Regions from separate parts of the Homo sapiens genome. Here all the other regions are linked to region 3. Evidence: promoter capture Hi-C in 16 types of primary human blood cells and fetal thymus (Javierre and others, 2016). All regions are on one chromosome and are shown on one strand. Each heading gives the region's core, a stretch centred on a gene start or on the middle of the fragment in contact. The rest is flanking DNA. Distances are from core to core; before and after follow the strand shown. Region 1 has its middle 10 kb from the start of RDH14. Region 2 overlaps LOC105373456 (a long non-coding RNA gene). Region 3 holds the start of TTC32 (tetratricopeptide repeat domain 32). Region 4 overlaps NT5C1B-RDH14 (NT5C1B-RDH14 readthrough). Region 5 overlaps LOC105373456 (a long non-coding RNA gene).

Region 1 (2,700 bases), core at 120-2,619, 1.4 Mb after region 3:
TGTGGACAACTATTTGCTTGCAGACCAGGAAGCCTAAAGGGTATATTTTAAAAGTCTGTCTCCAGCTATAGATTCTGGTGTGAGGAAGAGCAGTTATCTGCCTTCAACTCCCTCCCCCTGACAAACTTGCTGGGCCTGGCCAGAGATCTGAGGGACTCTGTATTTGAATATTTAATTGATTCCAAATGTCCTATGGAACACTGAAGAGAGAACATGTTACTAATCACCCTTCAGGAGCTTGGCCCCCACAGACAGGTTCAGATGTTCCACAAGCCTTCTCTGGGCGATGGGGAGTTAAATTAGTTACAGGCTAACATGGAGAAAGGTAGTTTATTCCTAGAGGAAACTAAGACGGAATGCTTAGTTTTATGCAGACAGTAAGGAAAAGCTTTTGCTAAGCCAGATGTGTAATCAAAGTGCAGTGGAAGCACTTTTAAGCAACTACCATCTAAGAGATTTGCTGTAATAACTGATTCTCCATTCTTTTTTTCTAAAAAAAAAAAAAAAAACTAATGCACATAGCATGTGAAACTCTAGGCTGATAGGCTTTCTTCTAGCACACAACAGCCCTTCTGCTTCCTCTTGTTCTATTATATACTTAAGAGTGAGTTGTGTACCATTTGTTATTCACTTAGCAAATATTTATTGAGTACCTATTATGTAACCGGGCATTATTCTAGTTCTGGGCATGCAGGAGGCAACAAAGAAAACCCAACCCAATTTGTGCATGCATATGTCAACTGTGCTGGTTAATAATCACATTACAAATTATTAATCATACTGCAAGTCAATGAAATGTGAGTACAAAGAATTTATATGAAAAGTAGAAAAGTAGTTTTGTAAAAACTAAATGAAAGCAAGTCACTAAAAATTTACTGTTGACTAAAGTTTCAAAGCAACTATCAAATACTAAAAATAAATACAAAATTATAAAAGGAGTCTGTAGTTAGTGCTTTGCAAGTAACTTTAAACTTTGAGTCCATTTTAAGGGCAAAAAAGCTAGAAATCCGACTCTACTATTTAAGTGAATACAGGAATACCACAGAGATACTTCTGATTTTGTTCCAGATCACCACAATAAAGCAAATATTAAAGTGAGTTACACAAACTTTTTTGTTTCTCCATGCGTGTAAAAGTTATGTTTATACTATACTGTTGTCTATTAGGTGTATAAGACCATTATGTCTAAAAAACAATGTACATACCTTAATTTAAAAATACGTTTTTTGCTCAAAAACCTCTAACAATTATCTGAGCCATCAGTGAGTCATTATATTTTTTCTGGTGGAGGGTCTCACCTCGATGGCTGCTGACTTCAGGGTGGTGGTTGCTGAAGGCTGGGTTGGCTGGAGCAATGTCTGAAAATACAACAACAATGCAGGTTGCCAAATTGATAAGACTGTTCCTTCCATGAAATATTTATCTGTAGCATGTGGTGGTATTTACCCACAGTAGAACTTCCTTCAAAATTGAAGTCAATCCTATCAAACCCTATTGCTGCCTTCTCAACTAAGTTTATGTAATATTCCAAATCCTTTGCTTTCATTTCAGAAATGTTCACAACCTCTTCACCAGGAGTAGAGTCCATCTCCAGAAACCCACTTTCTTTGTTCATCCCTAAGAAACAATTCCTTATGTCTTTAAGTTTTATCATGAGATTGCAGCAGTTCACTCACATCTTTAGGCTCCACTTCCAATTATCTTGTGATTTTTACCTCATCTGTGTTTACTTCCTCCAAAGAAGGTTTGAACCCTCAAAGTCATCCATGAGGGTTGGACTCAGATTTTTTCAAATTTCTGTTAATGTTGATATTTTGACCTTCTCCTTTGAATTATGAATGTTCTTAATGGCATCTAGAATGGTTAATACTTTCGCAGAAGATTGTCAATTTATTTTGCCCAGATCCATCGGAGGAATAACTGTGGCAGCTTTAGCCCTAGGAAATGTTATTTCTTAAATAATAAGACTTTAAAGTCAAAATTACTCCTTAATCCATGGGCTGCAGACTAGATGTATCAGCAGACATGAAAACATTAATCGTTTTATACATCTCCATCAGAGTTCTTGGGTGACTATGTGCATTGTCAATGAGCAGTAATATTTTGAAAGGCATCTTTTCTAAGCAATAGGTCTTAACAGTGGACTTAAAATTTCAGTAAACCATGCTGTAAACAGATGTGCTGTCATCCAGACCTTGTTGTTCCCCTTATAGCACATAGGCAGAGTAGATTAAACATAATTCTTACAGGCCCTAGAATTTTTAGTATGGTAAATGTGCATTGACTTCAACTTAAAGTCACCAGCTGCATTAGCCCCAAACAAGAGAGTCAGACTGTCCTTTGAAGCTTTGTTTCCATGCATTGACTTCTCTCTAGCTATAAAAGCCTCAGATCGCATCTTCTTCCAATGGAAAGCTATTTTGTCTGCATTAAAAATCCGTTGCTTAGTGTATTAGTCCATTTTCATGCTGCTGATAAAGACGTACCCAAGGCTGGGCAATTTATAAAGAAAAAGAAGTTTAATGGACTCACAGTTCCACGTGGCTGGGGAGGCCTAACAATCATAGCAGAAGGTGAAAGGCATATCTTACATGGCTGCAGGGAAGAGAGAAAATGAGAGACAAGCAAAAGAGGTTTCCCCTTATAAACCCACCAGATCTCTTGAGACTTATTCACTACCATGAGAACAGCACAGGAAAG
Region 2 (2,700 bases), core at 192-2,691, 1.3 Mb after region 3:
CAATGTGCCCTGGGAATGAAGTTGAAACACATAAATTTCTTTCTCACAGTTCAGACATTAGAATTGTCTACAAATCTAAGATGGAGCACCAGAGTTAGGAGTGCTAAAAATGGTGTCTACTAAGAAGACGAAGCAAAGAGCTGGGAAGTGAAAAATTCATGCAAAATGTGTTTTGTCTCTAGACTTCTGCAGGATTGAGCTGATGAAACTCGTCTTCTGGTGCTGTCTACTTCTCCCAGACCAAAGCTATCTTTGAAGTGTTCACTCTTGGCCTGCTGTCCATACTAAAAAATTCGCCTGTAGAGAGGAGGAAAAAGGCTTTTATCAGAAAATACTTTAAAAGCCTATACAGTGATTTTAAAATGACCTTTAGCAGGAACTGAGAGACTCTTTTCCTAGCAAGCTGGAATTTCATCTCACCCAAACCATACCTTTGTAAATAAGATCAAAGTAAGACGTAGAGGACCACACAATTCATATTTACCAAAACTTGTATGACCCATGCTAATTAACAATCCCAGCTGCACAACCTCATTACACACCATCCAAACTGCCAAGATGAAAGGTCAAAGACTGCAAGATCTACACAACAAAAGCTGTAATGCCTTAAGGCAATGCTGGCAGTACCCAAAATTTCACTCTCCTCATGGTATTTGGTCTCTAAATGCCAGTCCTTCTAGCTAGTCTTCTAAATGCCAGTCCTTCTAACTATTCTTGGACAGTGAGCTTGTATTGCCGGTTTTACCTTGAGATAATTTGAGTTTGGAACTAGTTAAGAATTAAACATGAATGTCAGAAAGGTAAAGACCAGATATCAGATGTATTACTTAAAATCACTAGATAGGAGGGTATAAATTAAATGAAGTCACAATGAGCTCCTTAATATTGTCTTCAATTTTCAACATACTCATTAGCAGAATGAACAACTGCAGGCATGCCCAGCCAGGCAGAGTCTACCCTGGTAAGCTAACCACATGGCAAAAGTGCCTTCTGATGGATAGTTAGATCTGAAAGAAACAGAATTTAGAAGGAATTAACTCATACTTCCTGCTTTCAATCTTATCCATCAGATAAGTCAGATCTATCCCAAGGGGAAGAAGTGAGTAGAGGCAGGGAGGGCAAAAAAGACTAGCGGGGGGTCCCTGTGGCCAGAAGACGGAAACATAAAGCATAGAGTACATAGGCTTCCACAAGACTGGCAACAAGCAGCTCATGTCTTAAAGATACTTTGATCTTTCGATCAGGTAACTGCGCTTCCAGAAATAAATCCAAAGAAAATACCCAGTGATTCAAACAATTATGTACCAATATCCTCATTTTAACATTAGAACAGGAAAATACAAAACAAAACAAAAAGGAAAAAGAATATTATATCTTTATTAAAATGTTTCATAAATGCTTTTAATGAAATAAAATGGATACATGTTGTCATGATAAATTTCTAAAGGCAATAAAATTACATTATGACATAATCCCAACCTATTTTTAAAAGTTTTTCCACAAAAAAAACAGATAAAAAACATTATAGGCTTATTTTTAAAATATTATTATGTATTTTCTAAATGTTCTATAAAAAACATATATCATTTATATAATCAGGAAATAGTTTTATTTATCAAATTCCCCAGCTTACCCAATCTACTATGTTTATTATGTATATTAGTTTAATAAAATAAAGAATTTCATATTTAGGCATCAGTCTTCAATCATGCATTAAATAAAAACAAATGTTCTAAACATGTATAGCAAATTACCATATAGATAACAAATATCTATGTCTATATGAATATTCTCATTTTTCCACAATATAAAAGATAAAATACATATTTTTATTCTATTGATGCAATTCTCCTAAAAAAGAGGACAAATAACTAATATATCTATTGATTTCAGTGAACGTAATTAGTAATCAAATTATTGCCTTTGAACAACACAGCAATATCAACTTTTAATTATTCATGATTAGGGTTGCCAGATAAAATAAAGTATGTCCAATCACATTTGAATTTCAGATAATCAATATTTTTAAAATTATAAATGTGTCCTTTGCAATTTTTTAGAAGATCTATGTAATATTTGGAACATATTTGTACTAAGAAATTATCCATTTTTTATCTGAAGTACCAAATTTAACTGGCTATCATGTATTTTTATTTACTCAATCTAGCAACCCTATTCGTGATGTCATTTTTAAAAGCCACATTCTCTGCTCTGAATATCCATCACTCTAGTTCCAGCAGGGGCTAGAACAACTGAATTTACCAGAAACCAGTTCATCAAGCTAAGACTAGAGCTTTCTAATTCAGAGGGAAACACTCCCAGGGAGGACACTTAAAGAGATGCCAGGCTTGTAAAATTAGCTGTATATGCTCCATGTTAATTGCCTTTGCAGGCCTCTTCCTGTCCCTATCCTTGTTGCACAGTCCCAAATAAAACAAGAGCAGCAGGGAATCTAAGCGCCCTCATTTCCAAAGCAATCCTAATGAAATATGTGGGAGCCCAGAAATCCTCTCCCACTCTGAGAGCAGACCCAGCTGTATGGCTGCACAGTGAATAAAATGGAAAAGAGTTGAAGAGACTCTAGGAATATGACTTTCCAGCAAAAGGAAACCAGCAGAAACAAGATCTTTAGATAGAGACATTCTTTGCAGTGAGAAATAAGGAAAATAGGAGGTGAGTGGCATCCAGGAGGTAGCCAGA
Region 3 (2,700 bases), core at 171-2,670:
GCCTGGCCATCTCCACTTTTTCTTATCCCCCAAAAGGATTAACATCCCTGGCTTTATGTAGAATAGTGTACGCTGCCACATCAGTGTTTGAGTCATTCCCCAGAGGAGAGGGGAATCCCCCCTCCATTTTTTTTTTTGCAACATCTTGTCTTCCCTTTGCTGTTGCTTCCCCCAACACACTTGGTTTTGTTCTATCCTGTACTTCAGATTTGTTTTTTGTTTTGTTTTTTTCATATTGAAAAGATGACATTGCTCCAAGAGGCAAAAATAAATGGGAACTGAAAAAAAAAAGCTTTTTATCTTATTTATTTAATCTTTTAATTCACCTGGAATGAATATTATGTCAATTGGGAGCTTAAATGCTTAAATGTATTTTTCCCCAAATGGTTAACTAATCCTCCCAATAGCACTCATTTGAATAATCTGTCCTTTCCCCATATATGTTACATGTCTTTTACAAAATACAGCCTATTTGAGGTATGTTTCTGGGCTTTTGTTCTATTGAGCTGTCCATTTGCTTACACCAGAAATGCCAGTTTATTTTTTTGTAGTCTTGCAATCTTTTAATTTCTACTAGTGCTTTTTAATTTAACCTTAATCCACTGTATTTGTATTTTTTTCAGTGGTGGTAAAAGGAAAAAATTAAAAATCTAATGAAAGCAGCCAAAAGCACACAATTTATGTCCTGTTAAGACTTCCGCATGTAAGTATCATGCTCCAAATATATTTTTCATCTTTACTTTTTATGACGGAAAGGGCTCAAGTACTTTGGGAAGCAAAACAGAATCGAGGGACGCCGAGAAGATACACAGCAGGCATGTAGGGTAGCGTGGTTGGCAACTGTTCTTACAAAATTTTAATTTGAATTATACGTAATGTACGTAATAAATTACTATTTGGATTTCCCTTTGGCATAAACAGCCAGGGAATATAACTAACATCAAAGATCCCAGACTCTCGACACAATATACTACTAATCGTAACACAATTCTAGAGGGTCAAAAAAGGTAGAGAAGTTTGGACCGTGGAACAGACCTGGTGGAATGTCGACACAAAGCGTTTCAGGGTAGACAAAGCCTACTCAGAACACCCTAAACGCGGAGTTTTGCTAAGTTGGGACGCTAAAAGGCAAGGGAATGACAGGACGTCCGCAGGCTAATTCGCCATTAAGAAACAGAACCGCGGCTTCTTCCACCTCCAGCGTCATCGGCCCCCAATTCGCTGTAACAAACGGATAGTGTCTCGCAGCATCAGACAACGGACTTGGAAATCAGTTTGCGACCACGCATCTGCGCCTTTTCTAGGAAAAGAGGAAGGCGGGTCCAACACTGGTAACGGCAGAAACATAGTTCACAAGGGCCACTGCAAACGCCCCGCCAGCAGCGGAACCGTTATCTCGCGAGACGACGGATCCCCATAAGGCACAAACCTAGCGCCAAGGTTGGCTGTCAAGGTAGATTCCAGGGTGTGGAAGTGGCTTTGTGGTGCCACCTCTAACCGCTCGGAGGTCAACCCCCATTCTACACCGAAAACTAGGCCTTGGCTGCTATGGAAGGACAGCGGCAAGAAAGCCACGCAACCCTAACACTCGCCCAGGCTCATTTCAACAATGGAGAGTACGCGGAGGCCGAGGCACTGTACTCCGCTTACATTCGCCGGTGCGCTTGCGCGGCCTCCAGCGACGAGAGTCCCGGGAGGTAACTATCGCGAGACCTGGGGCCGCGGCGACCCCGGGTGGAGGCGACGTTGGGGTTGTTTGGGCTCCTATCTTTGCCTCTGGAGCTCACGGTCGGCGCTTGTCATAACCCAGCACTAGGACTGAGCGGGCGGACGTTCGTCTTTCTAGAAAGGCCTAGGCGAGGCCTAGGACGAGGGCGGCGGAGAACGCGGGGAGAAGCCCACCCGTGAGGAGCCAGCTGCCGCGACGGTGCGGAGAGATTTCCGGGAACCAAGCCCTCTGCGCGATCCTCGGGCGCGGGCCGCCGCCTCTCACCCCGCCGTCTCTCCTTCCACGTTCCTCATTCGCACCCAGAGACTTAGGACAGATAGGAATTTTCCACTCGTGATTTTAGCTGGCGGGAAATCCGCGACCTGGGAAGGGAAGGGGTCACGGCTGCGTAGGGCCACAGTACCGCGACTCCCATCTCAGTGTCACGGCGCAGGCTCTTGGTGGTGTTTTTCACTTGTGAAAAACGTTTAAATATGTGGAAGAGAGCATAACGAACGTCTAGGTGTTTATCACTTGGCTTAAGCATTATCAGTTTACCTATTGTATTCATCCATGGATGTTTCAGAAGGAACCACCATGTCATCATCACATAGTTACTTAATATCAAGTCGTCAGTGTTGGAACCATTCTGATCGACTAATAAGGTGTTTTGTTCTTTGGTTCCCTTTTCGCAGTTAGTTCAAGTCAGGATACACATCAAGTCTTTTTAAGTCTCTTCTCCACCTTCCCCTCTTTATTTGTTGAGGAAACCGATTCTTGTGTCCTTTGAATTTCCGTGTTTTGGACTTGCTGACTGAATCTCTTCTGTCGTTTAATGTGGTCATCTGTCTCATATTGCTGTGAATTGGTGGTTAAACCTTGAGGTTTGATCCAATTGAATTCAGATTCAATATCATGGCAAGAATACTTTTTAGGTGGGTGTGTGTACTTTCACCAGGAAGCACATAACGATTCGCTGACTTTCTCTTTGT
Region 4 (2,700 bases), core at 185-2,684, 1.3 Mb after region 3:
CTATATTGTCAGTAATTTTCTGTCTACTTGCTTTATGTACTATTGAGAAGGCAATGTTGAAATCTCCAAATATATTTGAGAATTTATCTATTTATCCTTTCAATTTTATCAGTTTTGTATCATGTATTTTGAATCTCTGTTTTTAGGTGCCTACATATTTAGGATTATTATATTGTCTTAATCTTAATTAATATCTTTTCATTATGTAATATTCATCTGATACTCATATAATCACTCCAGCTTTTTTGGGGGGGCTAATGTTTGTATGATATGATTTTTCTATACTTTTATCTATGTCTTTATATTTAAATTGTGTTTATATTTAACTTATTTTTCTTATAGATATTACAGTTGGTGCTGCTATTTTATACAATCTGGCAATCCCTGTGTTTTAATTGCTGTTTTTAGGACATTTAAATTTAATGTGATCATTGCTTTGGTTGGATTAAAATCTACTATCTTCCTATGTTTTTTCTGTGTTCCAACTGTTCTTAGTCCCCTTTTTCTTTTCTTTTTTCCCCTATTTACTTACAGACTTATTGTGTGTTTTTACGTTCCATTTTATCTCCACTATTGGCTTATGACTCATTTAAAATTTTTTATTAGTTACGCTAGTGTTTACAATATACAACTTTAAGTAATCACAGTCTATTGTCAATGTTATACTCTACAACATCATATGTACTGTAAGAACCTTGCAACAACGAACTGCCAAACTCTGCCTCTCATGTTTTGTGCTACAGTTGTCATATATTATTTTATCTATTCTATAAACTCTCTATACTTTGCTACTGTGAACCTCAAAAATCTGAAACAGGTCTCAGTTAATTTAGAAAGTTTATTTTGACAAGGTTGAGGATACGCATGCATGGCACAGCCTCAGGAGGATCTGACGACATGTGCCCAAGGTGGTCAGAGCACAGTTTGGTTTTATTCATTTAAGGGAGATATGAGATATTAATCAACATATGTAACATGAACATTGGTTCGGTCTGGAAAGGCAGGACAGCTTGAAGCAAAGGTAGGAAGACTCCAAGCGGGTTTGAGTTTCTGATTAGCCTCTCCAAAGGAGGCAATCAGATATGTAGTTATCTCAGTGAGCATAGGGGTGACTTTGAATAGAATGGGAGGCAGGTTGTCTCTAAGCTGTTACAGGCTTGACTTTTCCCTTTAGCTTAGTGACCTGGGGACTGCAACATTTATTTTTCTTTTCCACTACTATTTCTGTTTTTGGCAATTAAATACCGTCTAGTAAATAAGGATGAGGCAAAAATATGTATTTCATATTCAAATTCCTTTTAATCATTTTCAGAGATCTTCCTTTCTTTGTGTAGATCAGGTTTTTCTCTGTTATCATATTCCTTCTGCCAGGAGATCTTTTGTTTTATTTTGTTTTGTTTAACATTTCATGTCGTACAAATCTACTGGTACTGAATCTCTGTTTTTCTTTGCCTAAAAAGTTTTAATCTTATTTAGTTTTTAAAACAATATTTTATTTTTACTGAATGTAGTATTCTGGGTTTACTGTGTGTTTCTCCCAGCACTTTAAAGATGCTCTTCCATTGTCTTCTCATTTGTATAGATTTTGATGACAAATGTTATGAATTTTGTATCTTTGGTCCTTAGTATGTAATGTGTCTGTTTTTGTCTGGCTGCCTTCATAATTGTCTATATTTCCTTTGGTTTGAATATGAGAGGGGAGTGTGTGTGTGTGTGTGTGTGTGTGTGTGTGTGTGTGTCCCACAGCATTTCAATGCTCTGCTCTTTTTTCCCCACTCTTTTTTTCTCTTTCTCTTTTCAGTTTGGGCAATTTCTATTGACCTGTCTTCAAGTTCACTCATTATTTCTTCAGCTGTGTTGAGTCTACTGACACATCCATTAGGCACTCTTTATATAGTTCCATTCAACTCTTTTCATTTCAATCTCTTTGCCAAAATTGCTAGTCTACTCATGTATGGTATCCACCTTTAAAGTAGACATTTAAAGATATTAATCACAGTTATTTTCAATTCCCTCTGTTATATTTGTGACACTTGGGTCATTACTAAGTCTAGTTCTTTTAATTTCTCCTAAAAGTAGATTGTTCATTTTGTTTTGTTCTGTTTTACTGTGGGACTAGCAATTATTGTGATAGATTGAATCAATCAAATCAGGTATTAAAGTTGTTTTAGGTTTTGTGGTTGCTATGGTTATCTTCATGGCACCACAGGATCCAAGTTTGTCTGGTATCAACTTTGTTCTTAGGGTGCAAACTGGCTTACCAGAGGGTTTTTCTCAAGATTTCTAGTCGACTTTCAGCAGCAGGCCTTCCCTGTGTGTCTGCTGCAGAGAAGGTCTCCTCATTCTTACCCCTTCCCAGCTATTTCTTCTATCTTCCTAGGGCTTAGGGATGAACATCCTGGATCTTGCCATGCCCCAGTGATAGCCAATATCTAATGGTACCAATCCTTGATAGTCTCTTATTCTCCCAAAGTTAGAATGTTTTCTTCTGTAACAGTGGATCTTTACTCATGCCCTGGAGGATAACAGTGTTTGAAGCTCTTCTAGCAGTCTAGGCTCTTTGTTCCTGAGGGTATAAGCAACTAGGGGGAGTTTTAGTCTTTGCCCCCAGTGGCAGCTGCTCCCCTCCTCCACACCTGTACCATCAAGGATGGCTTTATTCTATCACCCCACTGCCTGCAGTCTTTGTCATCAGCATCT
Region 5 (2,700 bases), core at 119-2,618, 1.3 Mb after region 3:
TTGGAAGGCCAAGGCGGGTGGATCACCTGAGGTCAGAAGTTAGAGACCAGCCTGACCAACATGGTGAAACCCCATCTCTATCAGAAATACAAAAATTAGCCAGGCATGGTGGTACATGCCTGAAATCCCAGCTACTTGGGAGGCTGAGGCAGGAGAATCGCTTAAACCTGGGAAGTGGAGGTTGCAGTGAGCTGAGATCTTGCCATTGCACTCCAGCCTGAGTGACAGAGCAAGACTCTGTCTCAAAAAAAAAAAAAAATTCCACCACTACTGTTACCATAATATTCTGTATCCTGCTTATCACTGTTAAGTAAACGCATTTCTTAAAAGATTCATGTATTTATTCAACAAATATTTATGGAAGTACCTCCTAGTAACTATTCTAGGCAAGAAGAAAGCAGCAGTAGAAAAGATGTATAGGTCGCTTCTCACAAGCAGTTTTCGCTCCAGCGGGACCAGAAAAGACAATAAGCAAATAAACTCTTGTGAAACAAAGTCAGGTTGAAATAAATGTTATGATTGAAAATAAAGGGACATAAGGGTTAAAAGATGAAGGAAATGAGGTATCATTTTTAGTGACAGTCAGAGAAGTCCTCTCTGAGGAGACTGCTTGAGAGCAGAGTTAAAAAAATAAGGAATTAAGGCACGTGTATATATGGGCCGCTGCAGCAGATGGAGCAGCAAATTTAAAAGTCTTGCGACAAGAACATGCTTAACCCATTACATGGCTTGGATATTTGTCCCTTCCAAATCTTATGTTAAAAGATGACTCCCAATGTTGGAGGTGAGGCCTAGTGTGAGGTGTTTGGGTCATGAAGGTCAATCCCTAATGGATGGCTTTGTGCCTTCCCATGGTAATGAGTTACGAGGATATCTGACTGTTCAAAAGAATCTGGGACCTCCTCCCTTCTCTCTTGCTCCTGCTCTTGTCGTGTTACACATTTGCTCCTTCTTTGCCTTCTGTCATGATTGGGAAGCTTCCTGAGGCCTCGCCAGAAGCACATGCCAGCACTATGCTTCCTGTATAGTCTGCAGAACTGTGAGTCACATAAACCTCTGACTCAGGTCAGTTCATGCTTTTGCCTAGGCTTCCAGACTGTGGAGGAAGGGACTCCAGCCCACAGCCCTAGATTTGGGATGTCAGGCTTCCCTAAGTGAAGTCCTACCCATGAAACCTATAACAGAAGCCTCTGCTCTCTCCCTCGAAGGAGTGCTAAGAAGCCATAATGAGTTTATAATCCTGAATAGTAGAAATAAAACACCTAATTACAATGAGATGAAATTCACATTAGCTGCTCTGGCCCCAAACACAGCATACTAAGAAAATAAAGATGCTCTTGGTACTTAGGGGTGTGATTTTAATAGAAAAGGTAAGGTTCTCTGAAGTTACTCTGAAACGTATAGCACTTACAACTTTGATTGTCTACATAACTTATACAAATATTACACAATAACATCATAACCATGCAAAAACAAATGACCCCTGTACAAATTTTGGGTAGAATGCTGGGGGTTGGGTGTACAGTGGGGAGTAGGGGAGAGATGAAATAACTTAAACCCAGGCACTCTTACCTACAGCCTGAATGTTTTACTAACTAAAAGACTCCTTGGATAACTTAAATTAAAACCATCAACAACTTCCGATATTCAACCTTAGCTATCAACTTGTCCCATGAAAACAGGCTGGAAACCTGCCTCAGTCCTTGATGATTTCACCAGCTCAGGTTGGCATGGCACATGTCTCCTATCTAAAGCTTGGGTGAAGATAAAAGGAGAAAACTAAAATGGAGAACATGTTTAGATTCTGTAAACCAGAGTTAGGGGCTACTTTTTACAAATATCAATTCTATTTGTAACTGTATGTTTCCTGTTACTTGCCAAAATGAATCACAAACTCATTTGTGGACCCAATCATTTATCCATGTTCACTCTCCCAGACTTTGGGGGGCTTTCCTCAGATCTGGAAACTATTTTTGACAGCTGAGATTTTGTTCTAGACATGGAGTTTAGACTTGAGTTTGAGTTTAGCTTTAGTGTTTAAAGGGTTAAGGATGGGGCAGCCCAGGGTTAAGGGTTAAGGATGGGGCAGCAAAGGTAACATTCTACACTGAGTCTAGCCATGGGGAAGGGGCTTTGACAGTGTCTTCCTCAACAGGTTTTGCCATTGAAAGAAACATGAGACATTAAAGCTAAACTCAAACTCAAGTCTAAACTCCATGTCTGGAACAAAATCCCAGCTGTCAAAAATAGTCTCTAGATCTGAGAAAAGCCCTCCAAAGTCTGTCTGGCAGAATGAACATGGATAAATGATTGGATCCACAAATGACTTTGCCATTCATTTTGGCAGTACCAGGAAACAGACAGTCACAAATGGGATTAATATAATGAATGGCAGAGAAATGCTTAAAAAGATTTAAAAAGGAAGTGGTAATATTGATATTGCTACATATTGAACATTTGAACAATGTTTAGACATCAATTTCTGAAAACAAAGACAATGGCTATGAGCAGATACACTCAAAATGAAGAAACATTTATTTTTTGTTTTTTAAGAAAAGGTTAATCACATATTCATAGAGTCAGTTTGTTACTATGGAATCACATATGATGTCATAAATTTGACATTCTAAATGCAAAGCTAGACTGAGCAAGGGAAGTGACAGGAAATGGAGCTGGGGAGACAAAAATGTGGATAACAAC

The links. Contacts are between HindIII fragments. The CHiCAGO score rates a contact against its expected background, and 5 or more counts as called.
Region 1: a fragment that was not itself captured here is called in contact with the fragment with the promoter of TTC32 in region 3 in 15 of 17 cell types (naive CD8 T cells, activated CD4 T cells, total CD8 T cells and 12 more); the score reaches 29.3 in naive CD8 T cells.
Region 2: a contact is called between a fragment that was not itself captured here and the fragment with the promoter of TTC32 in region 3, in 1 of 17 cell types (activated CD4 T cells). The highest score is 6.3, in activated CD4 T cells.
Region 4: a contact is called between a fragment that was not itself captured here and the fragment with the promoter of TTC32 in region 3, in 15 of 17 cell types (naive CD8 T cells, total CD4 T cells, total B cells and 12 more). The highest score is 34.2, in naive CD8 T cells.
Region 5: a fragment that was not itself captured here is called in contact with the fragment with the promoter of TTC32 in region 3 in 3 of 17 cell types (naive CD8 T cells, non-activated CD4 T cells and total CD4 T cells); the score reaches 8.1 in naive CD8 T cells.

What each region holds. Positions count from the first base shown.
Region 1 is chr2:18,549,312-18,552,011 of GRCh38, reverse strand. No RefSeq gene overlaps it. Among named protein-coding and RNA genes, the nearest start is that of RDH14, 10 kb to the left of the region's middle. RefSeq lists an enhancer at 1,195-1,489. The HindIII fragment of the contact is 1,958 bases long and covers 391-2,348 here.
Region 2 is chr2:18,607,358-18,610,057 of GRCh38, reverse strand. All of the region lies in intron 2 of LOC105373456 (a long non-coding RNA gene), which reads right to left. Among named protein-coding and RNA genes, the nearest start is that of NT5C1B-RDH14, 19 kb to the right of the region's middle. The HindIII fragment of the contact is 2,919 bases long and covers 1-2,700 here.
Region 3 is chr2:19,900,703-19,903,402 of GRCh38, reverse strand. It overlaps TTC32 (tetratricopeptide repeat domain 32), which reads left to right and starts at 1,420. Exons shown (of 3, transcript NM_001008237.3): 1 at 1,420-1,697. The coding sequence starts at 1,549. RefSeq lists enhancers at 1,068-1,307, 697-1,577, 1,758-1,857, 1,938-1,997, 2,138-2,327 and 1 more. The HindIII fragment of the contact is 3,134 bases long and covers 295-2,700 here.
Region 4 is chr2:18,567,127-18,569,826 of GRCh38, reverse strand. The region is part of intron 9 of NT5C1B-RDH14 (NT5C1B-RDH14 readthrough); the gene reads left to right. All of the region lies in intron 8 of NT5C1B (5'-nucleotidase, cytosolic IB), which reads left to right. The region is part of intron 2 of LOC105373456 (a long non-coding RNA gene); the gene reads right to left. Among named protein-coding and RNA genes, the nearest start is that of RDH14, 7.8 kb to the right of the region's middle. The HindIII fragment of the contact is 3,270 bases long and covers 1-2,700 here.
Region 5 is chr2:18,589,493-18,592,192 of GRCh38, reverse strand. The region is part of intron 2 of LOC105373456 (a long non-coding RNA gene); the gene reads right to left. It overlaps NT5C1B-RDH14 (NT5C1B-RDH14 readthrough), which reads left to right and starts at 2,624. Exons shown (of 11, transcript NM_001199104.2): 1 at 2,624-2,700. It overlaps NT5C1B (5'-nucleotidase, cytosolic IB), which reads left to right and starts at 2,624. Exons shown (of 9, transcript NM_033253.4): 1 at 2,624-2,700. The HindIII fragment of the contact is 777 bases long and covers 980-1,756 here.